Regions from separate parts of the Homo sapiens genome. Here all the other regions are linked to region 2. Evidence: promoter capture Hi-C in 16 types of primary human blood cells and fetal thymus (Javierre and others, 2016). All regions are on one chromosome and are shown on one strand. The core of a region is centred on a gene start or on the middle of the fragment in contact, and the rest is flanking DNA. Distances in the headings are between cores, read along the strand shown. Region 1 holds the start of BLACE (B cell acute lymphoblastic leukemia expressed). Region 2 holds the start of MNX1-AS2 (MNX1 antisense RNA 2). Region 3 overlaps SHH (sonic hedgehog signaling molecule). Region 4 overlaps CNPY1 (canopy FGF signaling regulator 1). Region 5 overlaps EN2-DT (EN2 divergent transcript). Region 6 has its middle 33 kb from the start of EN2. Region 7 has its middle 15 kb from the start of EN2.

Evidence for each region. The method cuts DNA at HindIII sites, captures the fragments that hold promoters and counts their contacts. A CHiCAGO score of 5 or more calls a contact.
Region 1: a contact is called between the fragment with the promoter of BLACE here and the fragment with the promoter of MNX1-AS2 in region 2, in 2 of 17 cell types (total B cells and naive B cells). The highest score is 12.3, in total B cells.
Region 3: a contact is called between a fragment that was not itself captured here and the fragment with the promoter of MNX1-AS2 in region 2, in 2 of 17 cell types (total B cells and naive B cells). The highest score is 10.9, in total B cells.
Region 4: a contact is called between a fragment that was not itself captured here and the fragment with the promoter of MNX1-AS2 in region 2, in 2 of 17 cell types (total B cells and naive B cells). The highest score is 32.9, in total B cells.
Region 5: a contact is called between a fragment that was not itself captured here and the fragment with the promoter of MNX1-AS2 in region 2, in 2 of 17 cell types (naive B cells and total B cells). The highest score is 12.8, in naive B cells.
Region 6: a contact is called between a fragment that was not itself captured here and the fragment with the promoter of MNX1-AS2 in region 2, in 1 of 17 cell types (total B cells). The highest score is 7.0, in total B cells.
Region 7: a fragment that was not itself captured here is called in contact with the fragment with the promoter of MNX1-AS2 in region 2 in 2 of 17 cell types (naive B cells and total B cells); the score reaches 18.4 in naive B cells.

What each region holds. Positions count from the first base shown.
Region 1 is chr7:155,366,097-155,369,371 of GRCh38, forward strand. BLACE (B cell acute lymphoblastic leukemia expressed) reads right to left here and starts at 1,837. Exons shown (of 6, transcript NR_103545.1): 1 at 1,713-1,837. The region is part of intron 2 of LOC105375593 (a long non-coding RNA gene); the gene reads left to right. The HindIII fragment of the contact is 7,901 bases long and covers 1-3,275 here.
Region 2 is chr7:157,004,993-157,008,416 of GRCh38, forward strand. It overlaps MNX1-AS2 (MNX1 antisense RNA 2), which reads left to right and starts at 1,315. Exons shown (of 2, transcript NR_147077.1): 1 at 1,315-1,432; 2 at 1,885-2,128. MNX1 (motor neuron and pancreas homeobox 1) reads right to left here. Exons shown (of 3, transcript NM_005515.4): 2 at 1,487-1,647; 3 at 1-881. The coding sequence ends at 528. RefSeq lists an enhancer at 289-941 and a silencer at 710-904. The HindIII fragment of the contact is 8,591 bases long and covers 1-3,424 here.
Region 3 is chr7:155,802,053-155,805,324 of GRCh38, forward strand. SHH (sonic hedgehog signaling molecule) reads right to left here. Exons shown (of 3, transcript NM_000193.4): 3 at 1-1,674. The coding sequence ends at 848. Among named protein-coding and RNA genes, the nearest start is that of SHH, 8.8 kb to the right of the region's middle. RefSeq lists a silencer at 3,028-3,207 and an enhancer at 3,114-3,272. The HindIII fragment of the contact is 9,246 bases long and covers 1-3,272 here.
Region 4 is chr7:155,505,711-155,508,875 of GRCh38, forward strand. It overlaps CNPY1 (canopy FGF signaling regulator 1), which reads right to left. Exons shown (of 5, transcript NM_001393663.1): 4 at 1,310-1,406. Among named protein-coding and RNA genes, the nearest start is that of CNPY1, 39 kb to the right of the region's middle. RefSeq lists a silencer at 1,207-1,256 and an enhancer at 3,118-3,165. The HindIII fragment of the contact is 3,118 bases long and covers 193-3,165 here.
Region 5 is chr7:155,444,403-155,447,506 of GRCh38, forward strand. All of the region lies in intron 2 of EN2-DT (EN2 divergent transcript), which reads right to left. Among named protein-coding and RNA genes, the nearest start is that of EN2-DT, 11 kb to the right of the region's middle. The HindIII fragment of the contact is 4,257 bases long and covers 1-3,104 here.
Region 6 is chr7:155,489,749-155,492,988 of GRCh38, forward strand. No RefSeq gene overlaps it. Among named protein-coding and RNA genes, the nearest start is that of EN2, 33 kb to the left of the region's middle. RefSeq lists an enhancer at 138-871 and a silencer at 1,671-1,740. The HindIII fragment of the contact is 2,037 bases long and covers 484-2,520 here.
Region 7 is chr7:155,471,407-155,474,407 of GRCh38, forward strand. No RefSeq gene overlaps it. Among named protein-coding and RNA genes, the nearest start is that of EN2, 15 kb to the left of the region's middle. RefSeq lists enhancers at 1-752, 1-1,708. The HindIII fragment of the contact is 7,565 bases long and covers 1-3,001 here.

The DNA.
Region 1 (3,275 bases), core at 587-3,086, 1.6 Mb before region 2:
TTTTATTGATCATTCTTGGGTGTTTCTTGCAGAAGGGGATTTGGCAGGGTCATAGGACAATAGTGGAGGGAAGGTCAGCAGATAAACAAGTGAACAAAGGTCTCTGGTTTTCCTAGGCAGAGGACCCTGTGGCCTTCCGCAGTGTTTGTGTCCCTGGGTACTTAAGATTAGGGAGTGGTGATGACTCTTAACGAGCATGCTGCCTTCAAGCATCTGTTTAACAAAGCACATCTTGCACCGCCCTTAATCCATTTAACCCTGAGTGGACACAGCACATGTTTCAGAGAGCATGGGGTTGGGGGTAAGGTCATAGATCAACAGGATCCCAAGGCAGAAGAATTTTTCTTAGTACAGAACAAAATGAAAAGTCTCCCATGTCTACTTCTATCCACACAGACCCGGCAACCATCCGATTTCTCAATTTTTTCCCCACCCTTCCCGCCTTTCTATTCCACAAAGCCGCCATTGTCATCATGGCCCATCCCCAATGAGCCGCTGGGCACACCTCCCAGACGGGGTCGTGGCCGGGCAGAGGGGCTCCTCACTTCCCAGTAGGGGCGGCCGGGCAGAAGCGCCCCTCACCTCCCGGACGGGGCGGCTGGCCGGGCGGGGGGCTGACCCCCGCCACCTCCCTCCCGGACGGGGCGGCTGGCCGGGCAGAGGGGCTCCTCACTTCCCAGTAGGGGCGGCCGGGCAGAGGCGCCCCTCACCTCCCGGACGGGGCGGCTGGCCGGGCGGGGGGCTGACCCCCCCACCTCCCTCCCGGACGGGGCGGCTGGCCGGGCAGAGGGGCTCCTCACTTCCCAGTAGGGGCGGCCGGGCAGAGGCGCCCCTCACCTCCCGGACGGGGCGGCTGGCCGGGCGGGGGGCTGACCCCCCCACCTCCCTCCCGGACGGGGCGGCTGGCCGGGCAGAGGGGCTCCTCACTTCCCAGTAGGGGCGGCCGGGCAGAGGCGCCCCTCACCTCCCGGACGGGGCGGCTGGCCGGGCGGGGGGCTGATCCCCCCACCTCCCTCCCGGACGGGGCGGCTGGCCGGGCGGGGGGCTGACCCCCCACCTCCCTCCCGGACGGGGCGGCTGGCCGGGCAGAGGGGCTCCTCACTTCCCAGTAGGGGCGGCCGGGCAGAGGCGCCCCTCACCTCCCGGACGGGGTGGCTGGCCGGGCGGGGGGCTGATCCCCCCACCTCCCTCCCGGACGGGGCGGCTGGCCGGGCGGGGGGCTGACCCCCCACCTCCCTCCCGGACGAGGCGGCTGGCCGGGCAGAGGGGCTCCTCACTTCCCAGTAGGGGCAGCCGGGCAGAGGCGCCCCTCACCTCCCGGACGGGGCGGCTGGCCAGGCGGGGGGCTGATCCCCCCACCTCCCTCCCGGACGGGGCGGCTGGCCGGGCGGGGGGCTGACCCCCCACCTCCCTCCCGGACGGGGCGGCTGGCCGGGCAGAGGAGTCCTCACTTCCCAGTAGGGGCGGCCGGGTAGAGGCGCCCCTCACCTCCCGGACGGGGCGGCTGGCCAGGCGGGGGGCTGATCCCCCCACCTCCCTCCCGGACGGGGCGGCTGGCCGGGCAGGGGGCTGACCCCCCTCCCCCCTCCCGGACTGGGTGGCTGGCCGGGCGGGGGGCTGACCCCCCCACCTCCCTCCTGGACGGGGCGACTGGCCGGGCAGAGGGGCTCCTCACTTCCCAGTAGGGGCGGCCGGGCAGAGGAGCCCCTCACCTCCCGGACGGGGCGGCTGGCCGGGCGGGGGGCTGACCCCCCCCACCTCCCCCCCGGACGGGGTGGCTGCCGGGCGGAGACGCTCCTCACTTCCCAGACGGGGTGGCTGCTGGACGGAGGGGCTCCTCACTTCTCAGACGGGGTGGTTGCCAGGCAGAGGTGCTCCCCACCTCTCAGACGATGGGCGGCCAGGCAGAGACGCTCCTCACTTTCCAGACGGGGTGGCGGCCGGGCAGAGGCTGCAATCTCGGCTCTTTGGGAGGCCAAGGCAGGCGGCTGGGAGGTGTAGGTTGTAGTGAGCCGAGATCACGCCGCTGCACTCCAGCCTGGGCACCATTGAGCACTGAGTGAACGAGACTCCGTCTGCAATCCCAGCACCTCGGAAGGCCGAGGCTGGCGGATCACTCGCGGTTAGGAGCTGGAGACCAGCCCGGCCAACACAGCGAAACCCCGTCTCCACCAAAAAAAAACGAAAACCAGTCAGGCGTGGCGGCGCGTGCCTGCAATCACAGGCACTCGGCAGGCTGAGGCAGGAGAATCAGGCAGGGAGGTTGCAGTGAGCCGAGATCGCAGCAGTACAGTCCAGCTTCGGCTCGGCATCAGAGGGAGACCGTGGAAGGAGACCGTGGGGAGAGGTAGAGGTAGAGGTAGAGGTAGAGGTTAGAGGTTAGAGGTTAGAGGTTAGAGGTAGAGGTAGAGGTAGAGGTAGAGGTAGAGGTAGAGGTAGAGGTAGACGTAGAGGTATCCTTTAATCTTTCTAGGACAGGTACAGTGGCTCATGCCTGTAATCCCAGCACTTTGGGAGGCCGAGGTGGGAGGATCACTGGAGGCAGGCGGATCACTGGAGCCAAGGAGTTCAAGACCAACCAGGGCAACATAGTGAGACCTTGTCTCTACAAGAAGTTTAAAAAATTAGCCAAGCATGGCGGCGCATGCCTGTAGTCCCAGCTACTTGGGAGGATGAAGCTAGAGGATTGCTTGAGCCCAGAAGGCAGAGGCTGCAGTGAGCAGTGATCACACCACTGCACTCCAGCCTGGGCGACAGAGCAAGCTCCTATCTCAAAAAAAAAAAAAAAAACAGATAATCTTTCTAGGACTTGATTTCCCAGGCTCCATAATGGCAATCTGCGCAGGCAGCTTCTGGCTCTGAGTCTTCCTGTTTCTGTGGTGCCACTGCCAGCACAGGGAGGTCATTCTGTATCATGTCACTTGCTTGGTGTTTTACACCCATGGATGATGAAACAGCAACTGCAGCCTGGAGTGCTGGGAGGCAGAGAGAGTCTCGCTTCCCAGGCCATCTGGCTTACTGTGAAGGCCAGAAGCAGCACAGCCTCTCTTGGTCACCAGGGATCAGGACTCAGGTGGAGAGGGTGGGGCAGGGGCTGGCAGTGGAGACAGGTCCACACTGGGAACCAGCTGTGCCAGGCAGTGTGGCCCTGAAGCCCCTAAGGTGTGTCAAGAGGGGTCTTTCAGGAAATGGTTAGAGAGTGCAGGTGTTGTGTTTCTCTCTGACATGTAAACATATGTCTTTCTAGACAGGCAGGTCTCCCTATACCTGCCTTA
Region 2 (3,424 bases), core at 65-2,564:
TTCCAGCAGTTTGAACGCTCGTGACATAATCCCCCCGACCCCAGAGACGTAAGCATAAACCCTTTTTTCTTTTTCCAAATACTCTGCAGAATGGCGGCTCCAGAGGCGGTTTCAAGTTTCATAAGTCAGGTAACACTGTGGGTTTCCGCCTTCTCGGACGCGGGGAAAGGGGAGACAGGAGGCTTCCCCTTGCGCGGGGTGGGTCGGTTCTTCTCACACGCACTCGCGCCTCCCCCAACACCAACCAAAATTAATTTTAAAAGAACCAGAGTTCAAGTTTCAGCCCCCTGGGTCTCCCTCTCGCTGTTTCTTGAAGAGCAGGTGAGGCGCCCTTGCTTAAAAGGGAAGCGCCCAGGACCGGAGCCGCGGCCGAATCCCTCCAGCCCCGGCCTGGGCGAGGGGTCCATGGGGCGGCGGTCGAGCCTGCTCTCGGGGCCGGGCCGGGTGGGTGCGGGCGCCGGGGCCTCCGGGAGAAGCCGCCGGCCGGGGCGCTCCGTGCGCGCCGCACCTGCTGGGCCGCGGGGCTCCTACTGGGGCGCGGGCTGGTGGCTGGGCCGCGGGGGCGGCGAGTCGTCCTCCGAGGAGCAGTCGGAGGAGGCGGCGTGGACGCTGGCGCCGTTGCTGTAGGGGAAATGGTCCTCGTCGTCCTCGTCCTCGTCCTCCTCGGGGTCACTGTCCCTCAAGTCCCGCAGGCGGCGTCCGCTGCCCTTGTCTCCGGGCGCTGGCGGCCCCAGCAGCTCCTCGGCTCCCGGCTCCTCCGCGCCGCCCTTCCCCGCGCCCCCGCCGCCGCCCTTCTGTTTCTCCGCTTCCTGCGCCGCCTGCTCTTTGGCCTTTTTGCTGCGTTTCCATTTCATCCGCCGGTTCTGGAACCAAATCTTCACCTGCGGGCACAAGCGGGCGTGAGAAACCGGCCACCGCCACCCCAGGGCTTCCTGTCCCCGGAGTCCCCCGGCCGCGTGCGCCTGGGCCCCATTGGGTCGGCCCTGGAATGGCCTCAGGGTGAGACGACTTAGAAGCAGAATGGGGAGGGGGCTCGTAGCTTCCTCCTCCCCGCAACCCCCCACTCAGCAGCAAACCCCAGAGCTGGGCTGGAGCTCCGTGGGAGCTAGGACTATGTCCCCAACGACCCAGGCCGGGGACTTTTCTACCCGCGCCCTCCGTCTGCGGAGGAAGGGTCAGGGCAGCTGGCTACGTCGCGGTAAATCTCAGGATGTTCCCTCCTCTCTTTCTGGAACAAAATTTCTCGAATGCGGCCTGGGGATCACCTTCTTCAGAATGAAAGGAGGGGTGGTTAAGTGCTGATTCTTGGGCCCCACCCGAAGCTACTGAATCGGCGCTCTGGGCACCTTAGATGAACCCGTGCGCCCGCCGTCTGAACCGTCGAGGCGCAGCGCTAGATGCCTCAGACCGCCCGTGGGTCACAAGTGCAAAGGTAACAGTGTCCCCTGGGAGGCCGGGATGCGTCGGGGGCGGGGAGGGCGCGCACCTGGGTCTCGGTGAGCATGAGCGAGGTGGCCACCTCGAAGCGCTTGGGCCGCGACAGGTACTTGTTGAGCTTGAACTGGTGCTCCAGCTCCAGCAGCTGCTGGCTGGTGAAGGCGGTGCGCGGCCGGCGGCACTTCCCCAGGAGGTTCGACTGCGCCTGGGCTGGGGACCAAAGGGCAGTGAGGCCCACAGCCGGCTCCGGTCCTCGCCCCAGCCCCTCCCGTTGCTGCTTGTACCACTACACTCAAGGCCCCAGCGCCAAGGCCTGGCCCTGCAGAGGGCGGGGCTGTTCCCTCACTATCAGTGCCCACTCCCCAAGGAATGCGGACTCAGGACCACCAAGTGGAAATGGATAGTTTGGAGTTAATGAGACCAATTTTTTTTTTTTTTTTTGTCTAGGAGACGTCTGAGTGTCCCTGTTAAACAGGGCCCATCGCAGGAGGCTTCCTCTCCACAGGAGCCGGCTTTGGTAGCAGTGGATTGACCCAGAGGCAAGAGGAGAACTGAGGCCAGTCGGGGGCCAGGAAGGGAGGTTCCGGGAAGCCCAGGAGTTGAAGGCTGCAGTGAGCGAGACTGCACCCCTGCACTGTACCCTGGGTGACACAGCAAGACCCCATCTCTCAATAAATAAAAAATAATAAAATAATAAAATAAAGGAGCAGTGAGTGATGAGAACCAAATCTCTCCCCCTCTCCTCACTGCGCCTTCCTAGAGATTCAGGCTCAGATCCAAACAGGTCTGGGAAGAGCTGGTCCTGCTGTTCCAGGTCTCCCTGCACTGCCTCCTTAAGACAGAAAAGGAGGAGGAGGAGGAGAAAAAGAGGAAGGAAGGAAGGGAGAGAGGGAAAGAGGGAGGGAGGAAGGAAAGAAGGAAAGAAGGAAGGAAGGAAGGAAGGAAGGGAGGAAGGGAAGGGAGAGAGGACAGGTGGAACAGGACCAAACCCAGGGTCCAAGTCTGTGTATTCACCAGGGACCCTCCCACCTTCCAAATGTTTTCCTTGGCATGCCCCCTCCTCAGGGTGCGGGCGGCAGGGGCAAGGCCTGAGGAGACTAGAAGCCTTTTCAGGACAATTCTCATTACGCAAATTACAGGCAGAGGCGCAGGCAGGATCCGGTTCTCTGTGTGTTCAAGGAGGCCTGCCCGGCTTTATTTACATAATTTCGCACGGTTACATCACAGAGAATTTTATGACCTCAAAACGAGACTTCCCTTGATTTCCCAGGAGCCTGACAAGTGTTGGACAATAAAAGAAAGAAAGCAAAGGAAAGAAAGGAGGCCAGCCCCAGGCCTGGATGAGCTCAGGTCCCCCGGGATGGGCAGTTTGCTTTAGAGGATGGCCCACGCCCCCTGCTTTAGTCAAACAAGGCCCCGAATTCCCAACTTGACAATACATTAGAACTTTAATTAAACCACTGGCTCCGGAGGGACCATTTGGGAAATGCCATCCAACAGGCAGAGACAACCAATTAAAGAAACCAAACAGGTTTTCCCCGGACCAGCGAGGAGGACTTCTCAGAACACATTCCGCCGTCTTTGGCACGGTTATGCCTGCCCTTTTGGATTGCCAGGTGCAGATACCTCTTCTGAACTTAAGACTGGTTGTGTTTAAAATTTGGCCAACTCTAGGTCAACATTTGGAATCAGAAATAGGCAAGGTGTCTCACTTTAATAAATTTTCTGAGTGACCCTGGGCTCCACGAAGCTCCAGAAAGCACCCCTAGGAGGCCTAGGACCACGGGCCCCCGGGGCTGGCCAGCCCCCTCCGTGGGCAACTTAGCGTCCTTGGCTCTGGGAAATGCAGGTCATATTGGTGGCTTTCTATCAGAAGGGATGGGCCCTGGGTCGGCACCCTGGGTTTAAGCCCAGGCTGGCAGGGGATTCGCAGACGCAGACGTGTCTGAGGTGAGGGGCAGCTTTCCCTCTTCCAGCCAGTCAGTAG
Region 3 (3,272 bases), core at 449-2,948, 1.2 Mb before region 2:
AATAACAGTTCTTCCAGTTTGTCCAAAAAAAAAAAAAAAAAAAAAAAAGAAAAGAAAAGAAAAAGAAAAGTGTGTGTGTATGTTGTGTGTGTAACAGTCTTGGCTTCCAAGAATGTGGCAAAATGGTGAATACAAAGGGAATATGAAACCATAAAGACAACAGAGGAGATGGCTGTTACATCGGAAACTAGTTAAATTAAAATAATATATTTTCATATTTTACACTATTTCAAAAATGAAATGTAATTCAGTTAAGTATTGATCTCTCAAAAAATCTAATTTACAATTCTGTGTATAAAAATATAATTTGTGGACCCCCATGAAGCACGTTTGAGTTTGCACTTGCTGAGAAGCAGGAGATGGAAGGGAGGGATGGCGGGGACAGAGGTTTGCTTTCTGACAGCCGGGACGAGGGACATGTAGAAAAATAGACTCTGAGCAGGTTGCTTGGCCTCACAAAATAATCTTTCCCCCGTGAGTACAGTTCACATGATCATAATAAATTATCCAAGAAACAAACTATTTAAGGCTCTTGAAGGTCCGGTTCATATTATTTAAAACATCTATTCATACCAAACAAATAAATAGCCAGGAGAGGAGGAAAAAATAACCAAAATAAAACAATAACCAAAAAAATTCAAAAAATATATATCAACTAAGCACAACAACAAAACTTCCCGGGGTCCTTGTTTCCTTAGAGTCTACTTTGGACTGTCCTACTTTATTATTCTTATTCTTATTATAACTCAGTCTGGTTCGTGCGCCTTTTCCGAGTGTCTTTTTGCTTTGCGTTGCTGTTGCTGCCCCGCCCCGCCCCCTCCCGCGCCCCTCCCCCGGCCCCCCGGCTTCAGCTGGACTTGACCGCCATGCCCAGCGGGTGCAGGGCCTCGCTGTCCAGGAGCCAGGTGCCTATTTGGTAGAGCAGCTGCGAGTACCAGTGGATGCCCGCGGTGGCCCCCGCACCCGGAGCGTCGGCAGCACCTGGAGCGGTTAGGGCTACTCTGCCGCCGCCGCCCCCGCGGTCCCCGCCGCCGCTGTCCCCGCCGCGGTCCGTGCGCGCGGGCGCCAGTGCAGCCAGGAGCGCGTGCGCCAGGCGGAAGGGCGCGAAGGCCCGGTGCGCCCAGCTGTGCTCCTCGATGACCGCGTAGCACGAGGCCAGCACCCGGTTGATGAGAATGGTGCCCTGGGCCGTGAGCGGCGCGTAGGCGCCCGCGGCCTCCTCGCTTAGGGTCACGCTGTGCACAGCGGCGGGCAGGAGCCGGCGGTCCCCGTCACGCTCGGCCACCACGTACACGCGCTGGCCCGGGCGCACGCGGCTGGCGAACAGCGCCCGAGGCCCCAGTGCGCCCCCGGAAGGCGGCCCCGAGCCCGAGGACGCCTCGGGCTCCCCGGTGGCCGAGTCGTTGTGCGGCGCCACAAAGAGCAGGTGCGCGGCGGTGAGCAGCAGGCGCTCGCGCGGCTCCCGCGTCTCGATCACGTAGAAGACCTTCTTGGCGCCGTCGTCGCGGTCCAGGAAAGTGAGGAAGTCGCTGTAGAGCAGCCGGCCCTGGTCGTCCGCCGCCAGCACGCGGTCCCCGGGGCTCAGGTCCTTCACCAGCTTGGTGCCGCCCTGCTCCAGGTGCACCGTGGCCGAGCCCGGGAAGCAGCCTCCCGATTTGGCCGCCACCGAGTTCTCTGCGGGTGAGGAGAAGGGAAAGAAGAGAGGACAGGGCATTGAGTTCCGAGAGGGAGGCGCGTCTCGGGGAGGAGGGCGCACGCTTGGTGCCCGCGCTCCTAGGCCAGGGGTGCGCAAGGCGCGGGGCGGGGCGATTGATTCCAGGCGGGTCCCGCACACACCTCCCTCCCCCAACCCCACTGCCCCAGGGACAGGATTCCGACACATTCCTTAACGACTCTCTAAGTCTGGGCTGGCGGTCACAGAGGTTGGCTGGCGTTTCCTGCAGAGGCCGGTGACACTCTTTCCTTCCGCCTTCCTCCAACCCCACCCCCAGCTCCGCACACACCCGGCCTCGCCGCGAATCCATCCAGAGGGTGTTTGCTCTGCACTTGGATTCCTCAGGAAGCCTCCTTGAGCTCCCGCGGGCGCCGGGCGCACCCTCCTTCCCTCCCGCCCCGGCGCGGGGCGCGGCGCCTGCTCGCGCACTCAGCACCCGGGCTGCGCGGCGGAAACCCCTGGCCCGCCTGCCCGCCTGCCCGCCTGCCCGCAGCACCCTGCCGCGCCTCGGCGTGGGCCTGCGGAGGGGCGGGGGCGGGGAGTGAAAAATAGCTGCAGTAGTTGTAGCAACTGGACAAACATTCCAGAGATTGGCCGAGGTGTGAAAATCCGAGGCTTGTGTGGATTTTCTAATTAAAATCCAATAAAGGGCCCAGCATTGTCATTGTGATTTCTGGGATAAACAGGAGACACTCTTGGAAGGGGACACTTCCATTTTCTCCCCTCCCTGTTCTCAGCTCACTCTCTCCCCAGCTCGCGGGCCTCCCCCTCCCTATTTGCTCAGGTGCAACCCCCCCCCACCCCGTGTGCAATTCACAAGCACTATTTGCACAGCCAGGCCTCTCTTCCAAGCACTCAAGATGTGTATTTGAATTTTAAATGGCGGGGCCTGTTCGGAGCGCTGGAAGCGCCGGGTCTCAAGGCCCCTTGACTACCCGCTTTCTCGAGCCCTCTGTCGCTCTCTGAGGCTCACTGTCCCCAGGACAATAATTGAAGTTGGGGCGGAGCGCAGGGGGCCGGGGAGGAGGGCGGGGAGGGCCGTCTTCTTTGCATTCCAATCTCCGGGATCATGCTTTTTGCAAATAGAGATTGCCAGAAAGAATCTTCCTGCTGGAATTACAGGGGGCTTTTAATCTTCTCATCGGTTTCTCTGGCATGAAGTGCGGGGCTGGCCGTTGGAGGCCCTCCGTAGCCCCCCGGAATGCGACCCCGGGCGCTGGCGAGCCCGAGTCGTCGAGTCGCACGGCCCGGCTTGACACGCTGCGCCCCGCGCCCCCGCCCGTGTGCTCAGAATGCCAATGAGCGGCTCCCGCGCCGCGGCTCCGCTCTCCCGGCGCGATCCGGGGGATGGATTAGCGCTGCTCACTTGGGAGGAGGCCTCCGGAGACCCCCGCTAGGGGGACCCCGCGGGCAGGGAGCCGGGGAGGAGGTTTTGCGCAGGGGGCGCCCTGGGCCCAGGGGCCGCCGCCGAGCCCGCGAGGTGGGGGCGCCGCCTCCTGCCTGCCTGCAGCCGGGAGCTCTCCGGGCCGCACACCCGCCCCTGCCGCCCCCGCTCCAC
Region 4 (3,165 bases), core at 502-3,001, 1.5 Mb before region 2:
TCATCACATTTTTGCTTCTATCTGAATGCCTACATACATCTCTGAATTGTTTGAAACACTTTAAAAACATTTCCTGTGGGAAGTTGTGGTCATGGACATCACACATTTCTATAGTATATCTCCCACATCAAAGAAAAATACCCCAAATGCCTGAATAATCCTGACTACGTCGTCTCACTGTATTCTTTTGCAAGCTTCATTAAAACTGGATTTTAAACAGAAACAACCCAATTATCTACTCAGAGTATAAGCAAAAAAGACAAAAACAAAACCAAAAACAAAAAAAACAAAACTTTACCTGTTCTGTTAATGGGAGATTTGTGTACTTCTTGTTTAATAACTTTTGATGACATGAATATTTATCTACAAATGTTCAGTAGCTGTTATTTTAAGGACTTTGGCACTACATTTGATATAATGGATGTAGGTGTATTATATACTTTATTGTAAACAACTGCTGAATGCTAATTGTCTCAAACTTCCACATTGTTTAAAAGTACCCCACTGGCTTTAAATCATTGTCTTCATATCTACTCACTCATTTCTTCCCAAAGATATCCAAAAGAATGCACAACTGTGTACTCCATTCTTATAAATGTATTAAACAAGCATCCAAGTTAGGGGACTAGAAGGTCTACGTACAGCCAACAGAGCGGAGAGTCAGTGACCATCGCTTTCAACTTTGTATATTATAAATAAAATTCTGCTCATTTTTTCCAGCTTCTGAGTGTGTGTATATGCTTAAGAATTAACTATTATTTTCCACCCTCTGAGCCAGAAAAAAATTTTTTTTAAGAAGTAGATACAGGAATGGAACCTGGAAAAAAATCCAGCATCCCCCCAAACAAACAAACAAACAAACAAACAAAAAAACTTTAGAAAGTTCTTACAAAATAAAAATCGCACCTTCTGCTGCTGTAGCAGATACTCAAGCCATGAAGTGAGGGTCTCCTTCCCTGGTCCAGGATGGAAAAATCCTCTCTCTCAAAGTTTTTAAAAAGAAAGTGCTTTGGAGTCTTCTAATTCTGAACAAGAATTTTCTCCTTAACTGGAAATCAAGAATGTTTGAATTCACTTAATATATAGAGGAAAGAAAGTACAAAGAGGAAGGCCACACAGCCCTGTGGTTTCTGTTTATCTGTTTTCTCTCACATGCTGTCGTTTCTGATTCAGCGGAGACGGGGGATCCTGTGTCAGAGCCGTGGATCGCAGAGGCAGCGAGGCTCGGTCTGCAAACAAGACGCTGCAAGGCTGAGTGAGAGAGAGAGGGTGTGCGAGCAGCGAGCACATGTTACATCAGACACAGTACCTGATTTTTCACTGCACAGCTTGTCAGCTAGATAGTGTGTCTCCTGGGCGATAAGTGAGGATATTTCATCTTCATACTCTTCTATTATAGTTTCACACTGTAGAAACATAATAACAACATATGTGGATAGACGCACACTGGCGGGGCACTTTGTTAGGAAGGACTTTGCAACAATTTATTAGCTAAACATAGGAAATCATGTAACCAAGGTGGTCCATTTTTATTCGCCCTTTTGGTTTAATACATCATTGCATTGGATTAACCCTCTTCCCAGAATGTTAATTGCATCATTTTCCTGGGGCTTAAGTAAATGATGAGTTGTGTTGGAAGACATGGGAGCCTGAGGAAGGAACATCTCTTTGCATGTTTCGCTTCCTTAAATCGGACTGGAAGTCATAGGAAGAAATGGACCTCCTATCGAAGGAGCTGAAAAGTCCAACGGTTTTTAAACTAAAAAAAAAAAAAAAAAAAAAAAAAAAAGAAGACCACAGCTCCCCGAAATGATTAAACCAGTTTCCTTGTGATTTAACATAATAATCCATTTTGTGGCTTGAAAGTGTGAAAACAATTAAGCCTTCTCAGCAATCAAAACAAACGCATCTTCAATTTCACTGTGGAGAACACCCTTGACAGTTACTTCGGGAGGTGTCTTTTCATGCTGTTTAGAGATCCATCCAACATTTCACTTCACTTAAAAAAAAATACCTGACCTTTCAGAGAAGAGGGTGCTCAAATACACCCCTGCATTTGAAAATCTTAAATTCTAACTGAAGTATGTTTCTTTGTTAAGGAACTACCAGGTTATACTTTCGGGAGCTGTGAAGTTACCTAGTGGTATTCACCAGAGACTTGTAAATCATTTTCTGAGTTCATTAAGCAAGACTCTAAAAATGTTTAATGGCATTTTAAAAGATTTAAATTCGACTCTAATGTGCCTATTTAAAACCTGTGAAATACAAACACACGTATTCATTGTCATTCTTATTCTGTAGTACTTTTAACCCTGATTATTGCCTTTACTTTCTAGTTAAAATAAAATCTTTAAAAATCGGCTAAAGCCCTTATTTCAAGGTTTCAGCAGGCCTGGTATTTTGGCCAATGTGTGAACTTAATACATTTTTTAAAACAGGACTGCCCATCACTTTGTCTGATTCAACAGCATTGACTAAAGTGAAAAATATTGCAACGTATTTTGCCAAGCATATTCTAGCAAGCCAGAGACTAGCATTCACAAAAAATCAACATTACACTGGAAGGAAATTTGGCATCAGGCTAACTATCATACCTAAGCCTTTGTTTAACTTAGTTTGGGCTAGAATATTCGAATTAACTCAGGATACAATTCTCCCTCCTCTGTCAAGCCTTAGAAAAAAAGAGGTGGTTGCATCACTCTCCCTCTGTCATTTGGCTGTAGATATTTGAAAGCGGCATTCGTTTTAATTTGGCTTTTAACCTAGAAACCACAGCCCCTGATTCCTTATGTGGAAACCTGTGAGAGACCTTCCTTGCACCAGCACTGACTAAGACCACTCTGGAGTCCCCACACGAGCAAAATGGTTTAAGCAAAACGTTCTGCAAAACTGTCTTAAAGTCCCCGGGACTTGTGCACAGCACCTTCCGTAAAGTATCACTGAGACGTGTCCATTGATCACCATAAATTGCCACAACCCCTTAGGTGTCTCAAAAGTCAAGTTACTAAACGCATGGTGAGCACTTAAGCAGCAAGACAACAAAGTCAGCAGATGACATTTTAATGTGCATTTTGATGTTCCATGTCTTGAAACTCAACCACAACAAGAGTAGAAAACAACAAAAAAGAGTTCCAAAAACACGTTTCTGGATCATACGATTCATCT
Region 5 (3,104 bases), core at 226-2,725, 1.6 Mb before region 2:
ATAGGGAAGTGGAGATAGCTAATGGGTACAAAAAAGTCATTAGAAAGAATGAATAAGATCTACTATTTGATAGCACAAAGGAGTGACTATAGTCAATAATAATTTCATTGTACATTTAAGAATAACTAAAAGGGTATAATTGGATTGTTGGTAACACAGAGGGTAAATGCTTGAAGGAATAGATACTCTTATCTTCCATGATGTAATTACTGCACATGTTCCTGAATCAAAACGTCTCACACCCCACAAATATATACACCTACTATGTACCCATAAATATTAAAAACTAAATTAAAAAAGAAGTGTATCCCAGGGAGGTCAGGTAAGCTGAGAGGCACCAATAGGTGCTATAGCCCTAGAGAGACAAGGCCCAGAGTCCAGAATGATCAGAGAGATTATGCTGGAATATCAGAGGACCACGCAGAGTGGCCCTGCATGGCCACAGTTCAGAGTGTGTGGAGGACACAAGGCTGGAGAAGGGGAAAGGAATCCCAGGGCCGGGCAGGAAAGGCCTTGGAAGCCTTCGTGTTAGGAGGGCCATGTGGTTGAGGTCACGGGGCGGGGAGGGGAGGGGAGATGACAGAGTGGAAGCTCAACAGGCCCTGGGTGCTCCATTCCCAGCTCCTTCACCCGCCAGGAGACCTTGGCCGTCTGTTCCCCGAGGTACCCTTGTGGAGTGGAGATCAGGAGATAGGCCCACAACCCCTGGTCTACAACTCCAAAATCCAAATGCTTTCAAAATGGGAGGGTGTCTTCCTAACTCCTTGGACAGCAGAACCTGACTTGAACAGACATAGGCTCCTTGTGGCTGTTACCTGCTGGTTCAGCTTTTCCTGTATTTACCACAGAACTATGACTGTGTTAGATAGGGCCCTGCTCACACCCCACGGGGTTAGGTGGCACATGATATGTGCACCACCTGACCTGTCCAAAATCAAAGAAATTCTGAAACGTGTCTGTGGCCCAGAGCTTTAGATGAGAAACTGTGGACATCTAGGATCCACCATACGTGATTGTGTAGGAAAAGTCATTCATTCATTTATGAAATCTCATTTAGTGCAGATCCTGGGGTTCCCTAAGACAACCTCCAAACTTTTTTTTACAGTTACACTGTGAGTCATTATGTAGCTTTGTTGCATGTAGACATCAGCATTGATGTGCAAAAAAAAAAAAAAAAAGTGAGTCTAGCTCCACATGGATGAAGGCCGTTAAACCACTGAGTCCAACTCCACATGGATGAAGGCCGTTAAACCAGTGAGTCCAGCTCCACATGGATGAAGTCCATTAAACCAGTGAGTCCAGCTCCACATGGATGAAGGCCGTTGAACCAGTGAGTCCAGCTCCACAGGGATGAAGGCCGTTAAACCAGTGAGCCCAGCTCCACGTGGATGAAGGCCGTTGAACCAGTGAGCCCAGCTCCACAGGGATGAAGGCCGTTAAACCAGTGAGCCCAGCTCCACATGGATGAAGGCCGTTAAACCAGTGAGTCCAGCTCCACATGGATGAAGGCCGTTAAACCAGTGAGTCCAGCTCCACATGGATGAAGGCCATTAAAGGTTGTTATTGGCCATTGGTAGCAGACATTGTGCTCTTCACAGCCACACACTCACAGGTTTTTTTTTTTTTTTCAAATGCAGGTTTTACTTAAGAATGTTCTTGAAGAAACAGTGAAAAAAAAATAGTTTTATTAAAGCTCAGCTCTGGAGCACATGTCTTTTCAATATTCTGGGTGAAGAAAGGGGGAGCTGTCATACAGAAGAACAGCGGCCATCGAGGAAAAGGACGGGCGGGCTACAGCCATGAGCTGACTGAGCCCGCTTTTTCATGGAGCCTCATTTTACATGGAACGGCACCCAACAGACAAATCATGGTTATTGAGACTTAGGTCTTTGACAGACACCTTTGCAAAAATAAATGAAACTACCCTGTCGTGTTGAGGAAAGTAGTATTTACCACTAAAGGTAAAATGTGAGTTTTTAAGTGAAAATTAAAATTCTTGAAAACTTGTATCCAACATCATGAGTCAGACAACCTCCCAAATTTAAAGAGTTTTCCAATAAGATTAGTGGTGATATTAACAAATGTGATTTTGTGATACTGTTTAAGGAAATAGTTCGACATTTGGAAGACCTGCATAACTCAGTGAACCAATATTTTCCAAATGACCAATATACAGTGGCATGAAATATTTTGCAGGCTGAGGCAGGTGGGTTACTTGAGGTCAGGAGTTTGAAACCAGCCTGGCCAACATGGTGAAACCCCATCTCTACTAAAAATACAAAAAATTAACTGGGTGTGGTGGCATGCACCTGTAATCCCAGCTTCTGGGGAGGCTGAGGCAGGAGAATCACTTGAACCCAGGAAGCAAGGTTGCAGTGAGCAGAGATTGTATCACTGCACTCTAGCCTGGGTGACAGAGAGAGACTCTGTCAAAAAGAAAGGGAAGGGAAGGGAAGGGGAAGGGGAAGGAAAAGGGGAAGGAGGGAGGGAGGGAGGGAGGGAGGGAGGGAGGGAGGGAGGGAGGAGGAAGGAAGGAAGGAAGGAAATATTTTGTGGGCAAAAGAGCCATTCAAAGTGCAAGACAGATAAATGGATTTTAATGTAATAGAGTATGAAATGTTCATTGACATGGTTTCAGATTCCACATTGCAACCAACCTTTAAGAAACCACCATTTGTTGAATTTGGGGGTAATATCAAGGAAAAATGTTCACAATTATCTGCCAAGGCTAATAAAATACTCCTCCAGTTTTCAACTGCATATCTGTGACAGGTTGCATTTTCTTCATATACTTGAACCAAAATAATGGATTGCACAAACAAAAATGAGAATCCAACTATCTTCTATTAAGCCAGATATTAAAGAGGGGTGCAAACATGTACACCACTCTCCAGACTAATTTTTTTTTGTTTGGGGGAATAGAATAAGTGTTCATTAAAATATGTTAAGTAAACATGAAGTGGGTTTTTATTGTCATTGTAAATGAATCAATTAATCAATATATTTAAAACATTACCATTTCATCATACTGCGCAAATCACCGGATAGACATCTAAATCTATCCGTTGCTATATACAAAAGCTCTTTGGGGGGCTCAGTAAATT
Region 6 (3,240 bases), core at 252-2,751, 1.5 Mb before region 2:
TAAGGCCAGGAAGGGGCAACTGTAGGCACTGCCCGGGGAGGGGCAGAATCATGCTGTTGCCCAGTGATGCCAGGTACACAAAGGCAAAGCTGGAGGGACAACGTGGAGGCCCAGACTCATTCGGGTGCATTGAGAGTCAGTGGTGGTGTGCAGGGAGATGTGATCGCAGGCCTGCTTCTAGAGACTTCTCTGGCAGCAGGTGGAAGGGCAGGTGGGAGGGAGGCCGCCACTTTGAGGCTGGGACAGAAGGGTGAGGACCTGCACTGGGCATGAGGGCAACCACAGACACACGCAGAGCCATGGAAGCCAGAGCTGTGGAACAGATCTGTGCCCAGTGCCGGTGGGGCAGGCTGGCCCCTCGGGCGGCTCTGTGTCTGTTCTCTTTGGGCCCAGGCTGTGTCCACCTTGCCAGGCAGTGGGAGAGAGGCAGCATCCAGGCACCCCATCCCATACACCAGGGAGCGGCACCGGCTGGGACCATCAAGCTTCCCTGGAAGGACAGCAGAGCGTGGTCACTTTCACACCGCCGAGGGGAGGCTCCCTCAGTCACAGCCTCCCATCACAGGAGGGAACCGGGGACGCAGAACCGGGGGGACAGGGGCCCAGCTCCCGGCCTCGCCCCGCCCAGGGAGGACTGTCCTGAGCACCGCTGCCCAGGCCTTCATGCTTCAGAAGCTACCAGAAGCAGAGGCTGAACGCGGCCGCCCCGGCCACTGCAGAGCCCAGGAAGGGCAGGGCGCTGAATGGCCCGCCCAGCTGCACGCATGGCTGCGTCTTCTGTGTGCCCTGCGTCTTTAAGAGAAAAGGAGGGACCTCTCAGGAAGTGGCGGGGCATCTGCTCCCGCAGGAGAAACTCTTTTACATTTCTAATCAGGAGCCTGGGCTAGGGAGTGTCCTGCCCCCGTGCCCGCAGGGATGGGGGACAATGAGGCTCCTCAACTGTTCCAGGGTAGCCCTTGCAGGCAAATCCGAGAAGGCTACGGCTTCAGAAGGAAAAGAACCAGGGAAGAAGTCCTCACAGGAATAGACCGGGCCTCGGGCGAGGCTGAAATTCTTCCTCTACACCAGGACTGCTACAGGAGGTTGTTTGGTTTCTCTGCTGGTGCTGTCTTCACACACTTACAATTAATATTAGCAGCAAGTGTCACTAAGGAGCAAGGAGCGATTTCTCCAGGAACCGGAAACTCCCCTCTGCCCCCCTGCAGCACCCAGCAAGCCGGGGCTGCCTAAAGGCCTGCCACAGGGGCTGGGTTTCTGGAATGTTCTTTCATCCCCTGGGAGTCCTGGGCTGCTCCGTCCGGCCCTCCCTCCGTGAGAAGGGGAAGCCGAGGCTTGGATGAGCTGCCCTGGCCGGCTCCGGGCTCCACCCCCCGCGCCCTGGCTGTTGCCATGGTTGGCCTCAGGCATCCGGCTCGGCCTACAGGAAACACGCTTGTAGGACTCGCTAGGGCAGGAGAGAATGGGGTAACGCGGAAGATGGATTTTTTTTTTTTTTTGAAATGAGCAAACAGTCTAGAGAACCCCACAGAAACAAAAGGGGAAAAGAAGGAGACGATCCAACAAAGGCCATTAGAGCGAAGAGCATCAGCGACATAGACGCAGCTACCAGGCGACCAGGCGCAGGAAGGGTGCGGCCGCAGCGGGTGTCGCGACCGCAGGAGGGCCAGGGCGGGGCGGCAGAGGGGCTCCCGGGACCAGGGTGCAGGAACCCGACAGGGAGGGAGAGACGGGGTGGGAAACAGGTGGACAGACAGACCTCCGGGGCTGAGGCGGAGAAACAAGACCCAGGCTGGAGAGGGGAGGGCGAGAGATGGCCACCGCCCCAGCACGTCGGAGTGGGCGCTGGGAGTTCATGGAATCGTGGAGTAATCAAAGGAACTCAGAAACCGCCCCACGAACCCTAGATTTTACCGGGTTTCTACAGAAACTGAAGCCAAGGGGTCCAGCACACAGCCCAGGGCCATCCCTTCGGCCTGAAGCAGTGTCCTCACCACACTAGGTCTCCGTGGGCAGCTCCTTCCCTGGCCCCACCCGGCTTGCTTTGGAAATACCCAGATGTACTTGAATACTGGGATTAAAAAAAAACATGGAAGGAGAAAGGAAAATGCTGAGAGGGGGGAAGGGTTAATCCAAGAGGGAAGAGACAAGCAGAGCAGGAAGCAGGAAGGAGGAGGAGGCTCGGGGCAGAGAGGAGAGGGACCTGGTGAAGTGGGGGGCTGAAGGCGCGGGGACCACCCCAGGCATTCTGGGTGCCATCTCTGTACGTGACAAATGTCCACACTCAAGCTCACAGCGGCCTCTCTCAACCGCCTCCGCGCAGCAGGGTTATCCATGGCTGAGACTCCGGGGACAAGGGGTAGGCAAAAAGAAACACAGCTGAGATAAAAGTCAGGGGACGGAGAGAGGAAACCAGTCCGGAAATGGCAGAGAGGAAGAGTTTGCTTCCTCCTGGGAAGGTTCCCTGTAAATGGGTTAGGACGTCTTTATTATGGAAAGATGACTCTGTGGTATCATGCAATAAGCTTGGTAGTCATGGAAAAGAAATCTGTATGGGAAATTATACTTTTGACTTATGACAGAGTGAAGAGTCACGTTGCCCATCCTTTCATTCAGATTATTAGTTAAATGAGGAAATAACCACAGACTGTTCCATTCTATTTGGTATACATTTCTAGAAGTCTATGAAATCAATCTGTATTTGGGAAGACCACTTCCTTCAGAGCACTTTATTTTGTGAACTATTTTGGCACCTGAGGATCCAACGGTCATGGTCCCCTTTGCCATCAAAATACAATAAGTGGAGCTTACAACTAACTTAATGTATACATGTCCATTTCTTTTAAGTGTGGATGTTGGTCTGAAGGATTTCTTCAAACAGTCTTGTCACTAATTTTATCATGTGACCAAAAATGAGCACTGGACATTGGATTTTCAAGATTTTCCCTGATAAAAATGAATCCTCTAATCCTCCCCTAATTGAACAATTCTGCATGTGATTTGGGTTTGAATTGTAAATTATAACCCTTTTCCTATTTTCTAAAATGCTCTTTTAAAAGTCTTGTAAATTCACCAGTAGTCTTCATCATTTGAGTAGTAAATGTAGTCAATTAATCTTTTTGGAAGCATTTTAGGATGAGACTTCTGGATTACTGTTCATTTTAAGACCAAGAGTTAATGAGGAAAAAAAGCCTTCCACCTCTGCAATTTTAGCTGACGGAAATGTTCTTGAATTTGCTAAAT
Region 7 (3,001 bases), core at 483-2,982, 1.5 Mb before region 2:
GCGCCCTGTGGATTCAGAGCCCCAAGGAAACAAAAACAGCACGTCAGAGGAAGAATGTCATACAAACCCGCTGGAGTCACAAGGCAAAACAGCCCCCATACCTAAACGCCCGGCGTGACAATGGCCTTTGTGCCTGGCGCCGTCGGGGGGAGCTGGGCGCCTAGCGGGTGGGGCAGGCGGAAGTTGGACACATTTCCACGCAGGTGAGGCCATCCATGGGGTGATGCGGGTGTTGGGGCTCGCTGCTTTCGCTCCATGAAGATTTGCAGCCCCCCCCAGCCAACCCACCCCATCCCTTCCCCCCACAAGGGTATTTCATCCACACTGTTTTTTAAATGCTTCCTAGTCAAACTTGAATATGCAATGAGACGCGGGAGCTTTGTGGCGGAAATATAATTAAACTGGGGAAAGATGTAAAAGCTGAAGAATGGGATGACATCAGGCTGATTTCACACTCGGCAGTCGGATCGCTGGGCCCAAGCCGCGCTCTTGCCACGCAAGGCAGATCAAAGTGCCCTGCCACCGCTAAAAAGGCAAAAGGGGACTTAAGTATGCTAATCCCCAGGACAAATATATTTTAATCTTGTTAGAATACAAGTTAATGCTGCAGCTCAGTGGCTGAACTTGGTCAGACTGTAGAGATCCATTTTTATTTTAGCTATGAATGAGCTAGACCTCTTGGTTTATTCATCGGTAATAAAAGTAAATTTACAAAACGAACCCCTCTTTGGGCTGTGTCACCCCCACCTTGAGCTCTCCTTACTGGGGACTGGGGAATTCCAGAGGCTTCCAAGATGGGAGCATCCCTAACACCATCCATCCTTCTCCGACCTGTCCCCTTCTGTAGAGCATCCTGATGGCCGAGGAAGGAACTCTGCTCACGCAGCAGAGAAGAAACAGGGAAACTCAAAAATTAATTAAAAGATTCTCCAAAGCAATCTGTTTCCCTTTAGGCTTGTGGTTTGACAACCAAACCAATTCCTTTCTGTCAGCCCTCTCACTTTAATTTTTGCAATGTCAATTTTCATTACTATTAATTATTTGCCAAGCTCCAACTGTACATTTGGCATTGCTCTGATGAGCAAGAAGCTCTCAGGTTCCTCCCTCTTTAAGTGTCGATTCCTGGAAGATATGAATATGCAAGTTTCTGCGTGTGTGTACATGTAAAATATTGGGCACACATAGAAGAAGAAATGTCAGCCTGTAGAGCTCCCCTTGAAATAAAACCACTGTGGTAAAATATTAAGCAGAACCACGGATATATCTGCACAGAGGAATGTGTGTGTGTGTGTGTGTGTGTGTGAGAGAGAGAGAGAGAGAGAGAGAGAGAGAGAGAGAGAGCGAGCCAGCCAGCGAGCCAGCACTTAACTGTAAGGTTACAGAAGGTTAAACGGCCCTGCAGAGCCTGCCTGCTAAATATTGCTGATGGCAGCCGCGTCTAAAAGGCAATTTCTGTCTTTCTGCTCTAGCGTGTGTTAGAATTCCCTCTGCCTCAGGCAGAAAACCTGACTCCCACTAAAGTGTGCTGCACAGCCCTGCATTCCAAAGCCTGTCTGTGCCCTTCCGGCTCCCTGGCCTCAGCAGGGGGGGCGGGTGCAGGAGGCTATGCGCGCACACACAGTCCCCCAGGCAGGCCAGGCAACTGGCAGCCCGAGGGGAGGGGCAGCTGGCAGCAGTATCCCCCTCCCCCACAGAGAGCTTGGAAGGTTGGGAGGAATCCACCCACCCCTGACTGTCCCTGGTTTCCAGGACTCGGGAATGTCCATCCCTGCCATATTTTTGTCTGTGTGGGAAGCAGACACACTGTCACTACTGTAAGCACACAATTGATAAACGGTGAGTTTCCAAATTCCCGGGAAGAAAAGCTGGACAAAGACCCTAGAAGGGAAGTGTCTCCCATATTCGTGTTTCTCCTAATCCCTTCAGTGTTCTGCCCTTTAGCTGTAGCCAGCTTAGTGCACACTCTAGCACTTCCGTTGCAGTTCGTGTTCTGGAAGTCACATTTCCCAGGCATTGGTGTAATGTCTCTTCCTGTCTCAAATAATAATAACACCCAATGTTGATTGAGTTCCTACTAGGTCTCAGTGTAGGAGTTTCTGAGGGCGGCCGTAACAGTAGCACACACTGAGAGGTTCACACGACAGAAGTCTATTCTCCGAGTCCTGGAGGCTAGAAGGCCAAAATCAAGGTGTCAGCTGGGCTCTCTCTGAAGGCTGCAGGGGAGACCCTTCTCGCCTCTTCCTGGCTTTTTGTGAAGGCTGGCAACCCCTCACTCCAATCTCTGTCTTTGCTGTCACACGGCCTTCTGCCCTGTGTCTGTACCCAAATTTCCCTTTGCTTATAAGGACACCAGTTACATTAGATTTGGGCCCCCCTTAATTCTGTGTGACCTCCTCTGATCACATCTGTATGGCCCTATTTCCAAATAAGGTTCCGTTCACATATTCCCAGGACATTAATGTGGGAGTACACTGTTCTACCCAGGACAGCCAATACTCACCATTGTATGTGGGTTATCTTCAGTCACTCTCATAATGCACCCCACCAGGTGGCTACTGGTCTTAACACCGTTTTACGGGGGAGAGGACTGAGGTCAGGGAAGGGAAGCTATCCGGGCTGGCCAGGGTGTGTGGGGCTGTGTGAGCTCTTATTTGCTGTGTGGCATTGCTCTCCGCGACCTTGGCTGGTTTACATCACCAGCAACATAATCCTGACTTGGTTTAGGCCTGGCCAGACTGCATGTGTGTGTCCCCAGGGAGACGCTGTCCCCCAGCACCGACGACATGCATGTGAACTTGCCTCGTAATCTGCAAGGGTGAAGCAAACACCGATGGCACTGGTGTCATGCCTGCTGTGCCTTTTCCTCTCTGGGCCTTGGTTTCCTCATCTGAAACCTGCAGATAATAGAATTAACTTGAAAGCCTGCAGTGACAATCACATGAGAGAGTGCCCATGGGCACTGGGATCCCGCCTGGTGTACAGTGAGCACTCAGTAAGTGTC